Regions from separate parts of the Homo sapiens genome. Here region 1 is linked to region 2. Evidence: promoter capture Hi-C in human tissues and cell types (Jung and others, 2019). All regions are on one chromosome and are shown on one strand. Each heading gives the region's core, a stretch centred on a gene start or on the middle of the fragment in contact. The rest is flanking DNA. Distances are from core to core; before and after follow the strand shown.

What was found. Contacts are between HindIII fragments. The study calls those that stand out against the background at their distance.
Region 1: a contact is called between a fragment that was not itself captured here and the fragment with the promoter of CPPED1 in region 2, in 2 of the 25 tissues and cell types used here (hippocampus and thymus).

The regions. Positions count from the first base shown.
Region 1 is chr16:13,417,994-13,423,036 of GRCh38, reverse strand. It overlaps a transcript of SHISA9 not described here. Among named protein-coding and RNA genes, the nearest start is that of ERCC4, 500 kb to the left of the region's middle. The HindIII fragment of the contact is 5,103 bases long and covers 1-4,534 here.
Region 2 is chr16:12,801,820-12,806,927 of GRCh38, reverse strand. It overlaps CPPED1 (calcineurin like phosphoesterase domain containing 1), which reads left to right and starts at 3,041. Exons shown (of 4, transcript NM_018340.3): 1 at 3,041-3,221. The coding sequence starts at 3,152. RefSeq lists a silencer at 2,960-3,009 and enhancers at 3,090-3,459, 4,782-4,861. The HindIII fragment of the contact is 16,943 bases long and covers 1-5,108 here.

The sequences.
Region 1 (5,043 bases), core at 734-3,233, 620 kb before region 2:
TTGTGCAAGACCATGCACCTGATTAGTGGTAAAATTAGGATAGGAATCCAAGTTCTGTAACTTTGAGTCCAGGTCTCTTTCCTCCTTTCTCCAAAGATACAACAGGAACCTTTCATTTTAGAGTTAGGAGGAATCTTAGCTCTCACGTGCAATAAGACTGTCATCAGAAAGATGAAGAAATGGAGACACAAAGTTGGGGACTGAATCTCACTAAGATCACTCACAAGGTCATGAAAATTACAGGATCAACATTCAGATGTAACTTTTTAACCCAATTGTTTGTTGTTGTTGGTGGTGGTGGTTTTTGTTTGTTTGTTTCTTTGTTTTTGTTTGTTTGTTTTGAGACAGAGTCTCACTCTTTCACCCAGGCTGGAATGCAGTGGAGTGATCTCAGCTCACTGCAACCTCCGCCTCTCAGGTTCAAGCAATGCTCCTGCCTCAGCCTCCCAAGTAGCTAGGACTATAGGCATGCACCACCATGCCCAGCTAATTTTTGTATTTTTGGTAGAGATGGGGTTTCGCCATGTTGGCCGGGCTGGTCTTGAACACCTGACCTCAAGTGATCCACCTGCCTCACCCTCTGAAAGCACTGGGATTGCAGGCATGAGCCACCACGCCCAGCCTAACCCAATTGTCTTATATCAGTCAGTGCCAATGTAGTTTTCTCCAGGCTATGTGAATGTTGATGGCATTAATAAATAGCTTTTGAATGTTGAAGGTATTCAAAAATAACTTTTTAAAAAAAAATCCTGACACTTGTAGCAAGGACAGGAACATATTTGCTACTTTGTGCTTTAGCCTGGAAGCCTGTTACATCCTTGGAGCCTCACTGAACCTCTGTGCTGGCTCCATGGGGAGCATTTGCCATCAGACATCAGCCCGTATTTTACGAGTGGGTTGGTCCTTGGAGGTGACCTGTGTTTTTGAGAGTGCTCTCTCCTGTGGCCACAGAGGCAAGAAAAGCTGACCAGCTCCACTTGTGTAGTGATTGGGTATATGCATTCAAAGCTGGTTCTGCAAAACCAACCATTTATATTAGAGGATGCAGGCAGAAAAGAGCCCCACAAAGGGCTTAGATCACCACATGGGCATTTCCTGTGCTCGTCACCAGGGAGTTAGCATCTCCTCCACATCCTGCTGATCAGACATTTCTTTTAGTGTGGCTGGAAGCATTTACCCCAACCTGGGATTCGTTTGGGAAAATACGGCACATAAGAGGTTTTATGAGATTTCATGTGAGAGTTGAAGACTAGAATGGCCTGGAAGAAGGGGAAGAGGACTAATATTTGTTGATACTTACTGTGTGTCAAATATTGTATTGGGTTCTTTTATGTACAACAAAATGACATAAATTAAAATTTACTGAGTGTTTACTTTGTTCTATTGGATGAAGTTTGCATCTTAGTTAATTAGAGACTGATATGGTTTGGCTCTGTGTCTCTACGTAAATATCATTTTGAATTGTAGCTCCCGTAATTCCCACATGTTGTGGGAAGGATCCAGTGGGACATAATTTGAATCATGGGGGTGGTTTCCCCCATACTGTTCTCGTGGTAGTGAATAAGTCTCACGAGATCTGATGGTTTTATCAGGGGTTTCCGCTTTTGCATTTTCCTCATTTTCTCTTGCCACAGCCATGTAAGAAGTGCCTTTCACCTCCTGCCATGATTCTGAGGACTCCTCAGCCATGTGGAAATGTAAGTCCAATTACACCTCTTTTTCTTCCTAGTCTTGGGTATGTCTTTATCAGCAGTATGAAAACGGATTAATACAGAGCCCAAGGATGGTATATTGGAATTATATGGAATGCAGAAAGTACTTGTCAGTAATAACACAGAGAAGAAATGGCACTGTCTCTAGGACATCTGAATGCAGCAGATCCTCTCTTACCTGGCCTGAGGGATGAAGATTTTCAGCCAACTGCATATTTTTATTGAAGGGAAAGGGCCAAGGATCACTTCAAATGCTCCCTGGGTTTGCATTAATTGGTGCCAGTTTAATTAGTATTGAAAATGATGTGGAAATGGACTTTTTCCTTGCATGGTATGTGTGAAGAGTCCAAGTTGGATCACTGCTTTCCCCTGAAGCAAAATCTAGCTGTTTCGCTGGGAGCAGCTGTAATACCATCATCTCTTGAGTGGAATCAATGTCTACGTGAGAGGATTTCATAGTGTTTGTCATCTGCAGAATCTCAGCTGTTCCTAAACAAGGCTGATTATTAAATGCCCTGACACTGCAGAAGAAATGTGCACATGCTGAGGGTCAGGGGCATTTGTGCGTTTCTGGGGATGTTGGTGGGCTCCCAGTCAGCCCTCCAATTCCATCTTGGGTTGAAGGGTTGTCTCATTCTGGCTTCATTAATCAGGCTGCCTCAGCCATAATGAATTTTTCTGTTTCTTTAAAGAAAGACACCCTCCCTTCTGTGCTTTGAAATGGGTGTTTCTTCTATATGGAACATTACTCTTGCCTTTCCTTACCCCCCATCCCCCACTTTTATAACCTGTCTGTGCTAAGAACAAGCTTCTTCCAATCTCAGACTGAACATCCCTTCCTCAGGAAAGACATTTCTGGTTTCTTCATCTCCCAAGACTGGGTTAGATCCTGTGATAGCTTCCATCCCCATCTCCAGGCTTTTTACTCCTAGGCTGGAAGCTTTCTGTGAGGGGAGGATCATATTTATCTGTTCAATATTAGATTTCACTTGACTGGCACAGCACCAAGCACACAATCAGCCTACAGTAAACGCCTGCTGAGCAAAAAACCTTTTTTTTTTTTTTTTTTTTTTTTTTTTGAAACAGATTCTCACTCTGTTGCCCAGGCTGGAGTGCAGTGGTGCGATCTCCGCTCAGGGCAACCTCCCCGCTCCAGATTCAAGCAATTCTTCTGCCTCAGCATCCAGAGTAGCTGGGATTACAGGTGCCCACCACCACACCTGGCTAATTTCTGTATTTTTAGTAGAGACGGGGTTTCGCCATGTTGGCCAGCCTGGTCTTGAACTACTGACTTCAGGTGATCTGCCTGCCTTGGCCTCCCAAAGTGCTGGGATTATAGCCATGAGCCACTGTGCCCAGCTTGAGCAAACAACTTTTATCCCATGTTCTTATTCACAGTGATTAACGCAGTGTAGATTTCACTAAACATTGATGGAATAAATTGAACATCTAGAGTGGAGGTCAGCAAGCTATATGGTTCATGGGCCAAATCCAGCCTGCCACCTGGCTTTGTAAATAAAGTTTTATTGGAACACAGTTATAGCCATGCTTATTTGTTTATGCCTTGTTTATGATTGCTCCTGGCTACAACAACAGAGTTGAGTAGTTGCTATAAAAATTGTGTGACCCACAATGTCAAAAAGTACTTACTATCTGGCCAACCCTGGTCTTCAAGTTCAGGAAGAGACGTAAGTAAACAGCCACTCTAAATTACCTCCTCTACTTTTGATTTTTTAATCCTCTCTTATAACCACATCTAGACTTCCCACATGTCTTCAAACTCCAGAGTTCTAGACATCACACGCTAACAAAGGCTAAGGTTTAAAAACTAAAAATGCTTAGGAAAAAATAGTTGTTCTTATGAGTTGTTTTATTTAGATATTAAAGGAAAGATTAGTCCCACAAAGCCAAAAGTCTTTCAAAAATATTTCTAGTTTTGAGATTTCATTGTCTGCCTAACTTAATTGCACCACCTTCCAAAGCACAGATCAAATTTCCAGCTTCCAGGAGGCCCGCTGTTCTTTCCATCTCTCAGAATGTCTTCTTTCTTGGAGCTTATCCCTATAAAACTTAATGTTTGAGTCATTTATTCAGGGCTCCCTGGTGACAGCTGTTACATTGTCTTACGCCATTATTTAATGTATATTAATTTTATTTTTCCAATTAGATACTAAACCCTGGAGGGTGAGGTCATTAAATACAAAGCTTGAACTAAAAGTTTTGTAAAGTGTAATTTGCATCTTCACAAACCAGTTCATACACGTGGGTTTATATAAGATTAAATATCCACATTTTACTAAAGTTTTCTTCAACTACTTACATAGAACCTCCAGCCCCTTTAGGATGTCCCCACTTTATTTCTGGGAATGCCCCAAGGTTGTTTCACCTGTGCCTCATTAATCAGGCTATTAGCTGTGGTCACTAAGGAAGGTGCAATGTGCTGTTCTTGTCCTGCACTGCTAGCCCGTGTTGTTTATTCTGCCTGAGCTGGCTGAGGGTATCAGTGCAATCACACCAGCATGCTATCTTCTGTGTTCTCAAGGTTAGATTATTACTTATAGTCCTTATGGTGCTAGAGCCACATTGTGTAACTGTGAATTCATGCAGGAGGTGAATAAAATCATGCCATCTCTTTGCTGCTTTGCCATCTGGGCCACAGAACATCCCAGTTTGCCCCACATCATCAGAGCTCCAGCAGCTTCTGCTCTCTCCATGGGCCTGGGCAGGAGTCTCTGGGTTGAGTAACATAAGACCGCCATACTGGGGGGAAGTCCATGTGGTCATACGGAGGAGAAGCAGTGCCAGTCAGACCCCAAGTGTTCCAGCCACTTCAGCCCACACACCATGCATATGAGTGAAGTAGTTCTCTTGCATATGCGGTTTCAGCAGATGCCACATGGTGAAGAATGGAGGCGCCAGATATACAGCCCCAGGTGAGCCATTCCAACCATCTCCAGCCTTCATTACCCTAGACATTGTGGAACATGGACATGGGCTTTCAAATTCCTGATCCATAGAATCATAGGCATATTAAAATGCCATTCTTTCATGCCACTAAGTTTGGGGCTGTTTTGATACTTAGCAATAAACAATTGGAGCACCTCTTTTTTTTTTTCTTCAAAGATCCTGCTAATAAATACATGTAGGTCAACCACTGTACTGACAAACCTGAGATGCCTACACAAGTCATATTCTCAGAGATAAACATAATCTAGCTTCTTTCAGGCTAGGCCTCCCCTCCAAAACATGACAGGTGTCTGTTGAATGAAGGAGCAAAGGAAGTAATAAAGGAAGGATTTAAAGAAGAAAAGGAGGGAAGAAGAAAATAGGC
Region 2 (5,108 bases), core at 1,792-4,291:
TCTCGATCTCCTGACCTCAAATGATCTGCCTGCCTTGGCCTCCCAAAGTGCTGGGATTACAGGCGTGAGACACTGTGCCCGGCCAAAACAGTAAATTTTTTAAAAAGGTAACCAACTTAATAGACCTTATAGTTGAGTCGGGAAAGTCAACATTAAATAAATAATTACACCTGAAAACATATAATTATCAACTGTGCAAAGTGCAACAAGGGACAAGAACATAGTGCTCTAACAAAGAATGAGGGAGGCCTAGTTTAGATCAGCAAAGTGTGCAAATGGGTAGGGCATGGCCTCTCCACAGAAGTGTTATTTAACTGCAGGCCTTCATGTTCAAATGGGCTTTAGCTCAGCAGGGGAAGATACTTTTTTGTTTGTTTGTTCGTTTTTCAGACAGAGTCTTGCTCTTTCACCAGGCTGGAGTGCAGTGGCGCGATCTCAGCTCACTGCAACCTCCGCCTCCCGGGTTCAAGCAATTCTCCTGCCTCAGCCTCCCGAGTAGCTGGGATTAAAGGCACGCGCCACCACATCTGGCTAATTTTTGTATTTTTAGTAGAGACAGGGTTTTACCATGTTGGCCAGGATGGTCTTGATCTCTTGACCTCGTGATCCACCTGCCTTGGCCTCCCAAAATGCTGGGATTATAGGCATGAGCCACGGTGCCCAGCTGGGAAGAGGCATTTTAAGCAGAAAGAACTGCATATGCAGAGAGGGAAATTAATTTGCATGTTTAATGAACTGAATGGCCAGTATGACTGCAAAGCTAGTGAATAAGAGGCAGGGTCTGTTTCTATAATTCATTCTCTCCTTCACATTTCTTTTAATTAAAAAAAATTTTTTAATAGAGATGAGTTCTCACTATGTTGCTCAGGCTGGTCTTGAACTCCTGGGCTCAAGTAATCCTCCTGCCTAAACCTCCCAAAATGCTGGGATTACAAGCATGAGCCATTGTGCTCAGCTTCCCCTTCACATTTTTTTTTTTTAAAGACACAGTCTCACTCTGTCGCTCAGGCTGGAGTGCAGCGGCGGGATCTCGGCTCACTGCAACCTCTGCCTCTCGGGTTCAAGTGATTCTCCTGCCTTAGCATCCCGAGTAGCTGGGACTACAGGCGTGCACCACCACACCCAGCTAATTTTTGTATTTTTAGTTGAGATGAGGTTTCACCATGTTGGCGAGGGTGGTCCCGATCTGTAGACCTCATGATCCGCCACCTCCACCTCCCAAAGTGCTGGCATTACAGGCCTGAACCATTGCGCCCGGCCTCCTTCACATTTCTTGGGACTCCTCCTCTGGGCCAGGCCATGTTCAGGGAATAGGGTTATAGTGATTGATTAATAATAACAATGGCTAATATTCATTGAGTACCTACCATTTGTTATTAGAACTATTATTCTAAGCACTTTGATACATGAACTCATTTAAGCCTTTCTGCAACCCTATGACCTAGATGCTACTATTGTTTCCATTTCACAGATAGGGAAACTGAGGCATAGAGAAACTATGCAATTTTCAAGAGCATACAACCAGTAAGTGGGTAGAACCGGGATTAATCCAAGCCCACTGACTCCAGGACTCATAGGCATTTATACTCTTAACCACTATGATTCATGGGTGACTCTTGTCAAGGATTAGAGAACAGTAGTTATGGCCATATTAGCTACTCAAACAGTGCTTTGGATGTAGGCAGCTAGTTTAGAAAAGAATTTCCCAAATTTGTAAGATCATAAGAGCTCCCCTGCAGTGCTTGTTAAAAACAGATCATTTTCAGGCCAGGCACTGTGGCTCATGCCTGTAATCCTAGCACTCTAGGAGGCCCGGGTGGGTGGATTGCTTGAGCTCAGGAGTTCCAGATCAGCCTGGGCAACATAGTCAAACTCGTCTCTACTAAAAATACAAAGTATTAGCCAGGCATGGTGGCGCACGCCAATAGTGCCAGCCACTTAGGAGGCTGAGGTGGGAGAATCACCTGAGCCCAGGAGATCGAGACTGCAGAGATTGTGCCACTGCACTCCAGCCTAGGCAACCAGAGTGAGACCCTGTCTCAAAACAACAACAACAACAACAAAACACAGATCATTTTCATAGAGATTTGGATTCAATAGGTCCATTCTGGAATTTGTATTTTCAACACGTTTGACAAATGCTGGCTAAGTAGTTCACTACAATGGCTCTTGAGTTGAAGAGACACTAATTTGGTTACTCGCAGCTTTACTACCTCTCTAGATGTGTGTCACCTTGTGCAAGTTCGTTCATCTCTCTGAGCGTCAGTTTCCCCAAATGACGGATGCAGCTAATAACAGCACCACCTCCTAGGGCTGTAGTGGGGATTAAGTGAGCAGCGTGCAAAGTGCTTAGCGCCCTGCCTGGTGCATAGCAAGCAAAGATAATAACAGAAAGATGGTGGCAGCCACTGGGAAGTTCAGGCTGAGACAGTCTTCCAAGACGTCCACCTTTTCATCTTTTTTTTTTTTTTTTTTGTATTGGCAAGGTCTCTCGCCGTGTTGCCCAGGCTGGTCTCCAACACCTGGACTCAAGCGATCCTCCCTCCTTGGCCTCCCAAAGAGCTGGGGTTACAGGCGTAAGCCACCCCAGTGGCTCCTTCTGACTTTATGATAGAGTTGTCAGATAAAAAAAAATCAGGACGCTTCCATTCAAACCTGCAAAAAGAGAAAAATTTAAAAAAATTAGGACGCCCAGTTCAATTGGAATTTCAGATAATGAAAAAAAAATTTAACGTAAGTAGCTCCCAAATACTGCATAGGACATATTTATACCAAGTCAGTCATTCTTTAAAAAAAAAAATCTGAAATTCCAATTTAACCGGGAGTCCTGCATTTTTACTTGTTAAATCTAGTAACTCTGCCTTTAGGGAAGGACTGACCCCAAAGCCTTATCCCCGCCCACGCGTGCCCTAGACAGTCTCCACTCGCCAGGCGCGCAGGTCGATCCCAGAGGGGCCGCTGGCGCCTCCGCTCCGCCCAGGCAGCACTAGTGGCGCCCCGAGCCACCGGGCCCCTCCCCGTCCCGCCCCAGTCCCGCCCCGAGATCAAAGGGCGTCGCCCAAAGCGGGACAGGTCCAGCGGTTGTTCTGTGTGAAGTCGCGCGGCTTCCACCCACGCAGTGTTCTAAGTGAAGGCCAGAAACTCGCTCGCCATGTCGGCTGCAGAGGCGGGGGGTGTTTTCCACAGAGCCAGGGGCAGGACCCTGGCCGCGTTTCCCGCAGGTACTGCCCGCCCCTCACCCGGGGAGGGGACTCTGGGGCTGCGGAACCTTCCGCCGGGGGAACCTTTTGTTCAGGTGTGCGCTCCGCCAGTCGGACACCATCCGGGGCTGCACCGGGGCCTGGGAGCCGCCATAGCTGCATCAAAGCCTGCTCTTAGGGATTCCAGGGGCGCAGTTGAGAGGCGAGGCCGAGAGAGCGATCTGGTCTAGGAGCCTCCTTGGCCTTGACCTAACTTCCCCCAGAGAAGGGAAGTAAGAGGAGGGTAGCAAAGCATAGTTAATGACAGCTTGGACTCTGCAGCGAGACCTGGTTTCCAAGCTGTGCATTAGCATCTTGGCCTCAGCTTCCACATCTGTGAAACGGGAATACTTGTGGGTGTTACTGGATAAGCGTTCGGTGCATGTTAGAGGGTGTCGGTTTTATTAAGGTTGTTCACCGTTATGTATTCTGTACTCCATAATGACGTTTATTTAAGTCATTCACCGAAATGGTAACACTGCCCCATCAGAGCAGTAGAGAGGGAGGGCATTCGAGAGTCGTAGTGAAGTGCTTGGATTTTGGATTTAGATTATCTGCTTTGCCTTAAAAATGGGTTTGATAATACCTGCCTCATAGGGTTGTTGGAAGCGTAAACAGATCAAAAGTATTTTTGTAACCCGGTGTTGGACGCATGCTAGGTGCTAAGTAAAGAGGGAGGTTTGTTTCTGGTTTGTTGATTCCCCTCTGTGGCTTTTTGCTGCCTGCAGCCAGATCGCCTCCCAGGCTCTCACCAGCTTTATACCCCCAGGGAAGTCACCCTAAATGCCCTATATGATCAGGCTTGTGTCCACTTCCTTCAGGGTTGTCATTCTCTCTCTTGCCCAGTTCTGCAACAGGTTTTGTTGTTGCCCTTGTTTGAACTGCATTTAAAAGGGCCAAGGCCGTTCTTTCCCTGAGGGTCTTGGCGCTTGCTGTTTTCTGCTTCTTTAGCAGGGTTGGTGAGCCTGGCTCTCTCAACCGTCACACCTCATTTTAAAGTTCATTCACTTCCTCAGAGACTTTACCTGCTACCTTATCTAAAGTAGGTTTCTCCGGTAATTCTATGGTAAAACCTTATTTATTCATTTAAGGCGGAGTCTTGCTTTATTGCCCAGGCTGGAGTGCAGTGGCACGATCTTGGCTCACTGTAACCTCCGCCTCCCGGGTTCAAGCGATTCTCCTGCCTCAGCCTCTGGAGTAGCTGGAACTATAGGCACGCACCACCACGCCCGGCTAATTTTGTATTTTTAGTAGAGATGGGGTTTCTCCATGTTGGCCAGGCTGGTCTCGAACTCACAACATCAGGTGATCCGCCGTCCTCAGCCTCCTAAAGTGCTGGGATTACAGACCTGAGCCACCGCGCCCGGCCTGGGACGACTGTATTTTAATGGACCTTGTCTTTTTTGTCCAACATGAAGATTTTGCTCTTTTCTTGCTGGGCAACATTCCATTGGATGATTATATACCTTATACATTCTGTTGATGTATATGCTGAATATCTTCCCTTTGCCTCTCCAAACCTTTCTCCCTTCCCCACCATGCCCCAGGGGTTTGCCCTCCGTGAGCTACATCGGTGGGCTCCTTGCCTTTTGGTTTTCCTTTGGGCTCAGCCAGTGGGGAGCCCTGAGAAGAAATCAGAGCAGGGAGAGAAGCAAAAGGCAGCTGTATTTATTCTTGCAGTTTACTCTGTGGGGTTGCCTCGCCTGGCTGTCTTCCTCCCCACCCCTGAAGGTCAAGGTCGCTCCTTTTCTCAGGACAGCTTTTCTCCTCATTCTCTCTAGTTCTGGATTTGAGTAACCATTTCCTCCTTTGAGGCGTGGGAGTGGCAGTGGTTCTGCTTTTCTAACCTTGGGTTACCACACTCCCTTG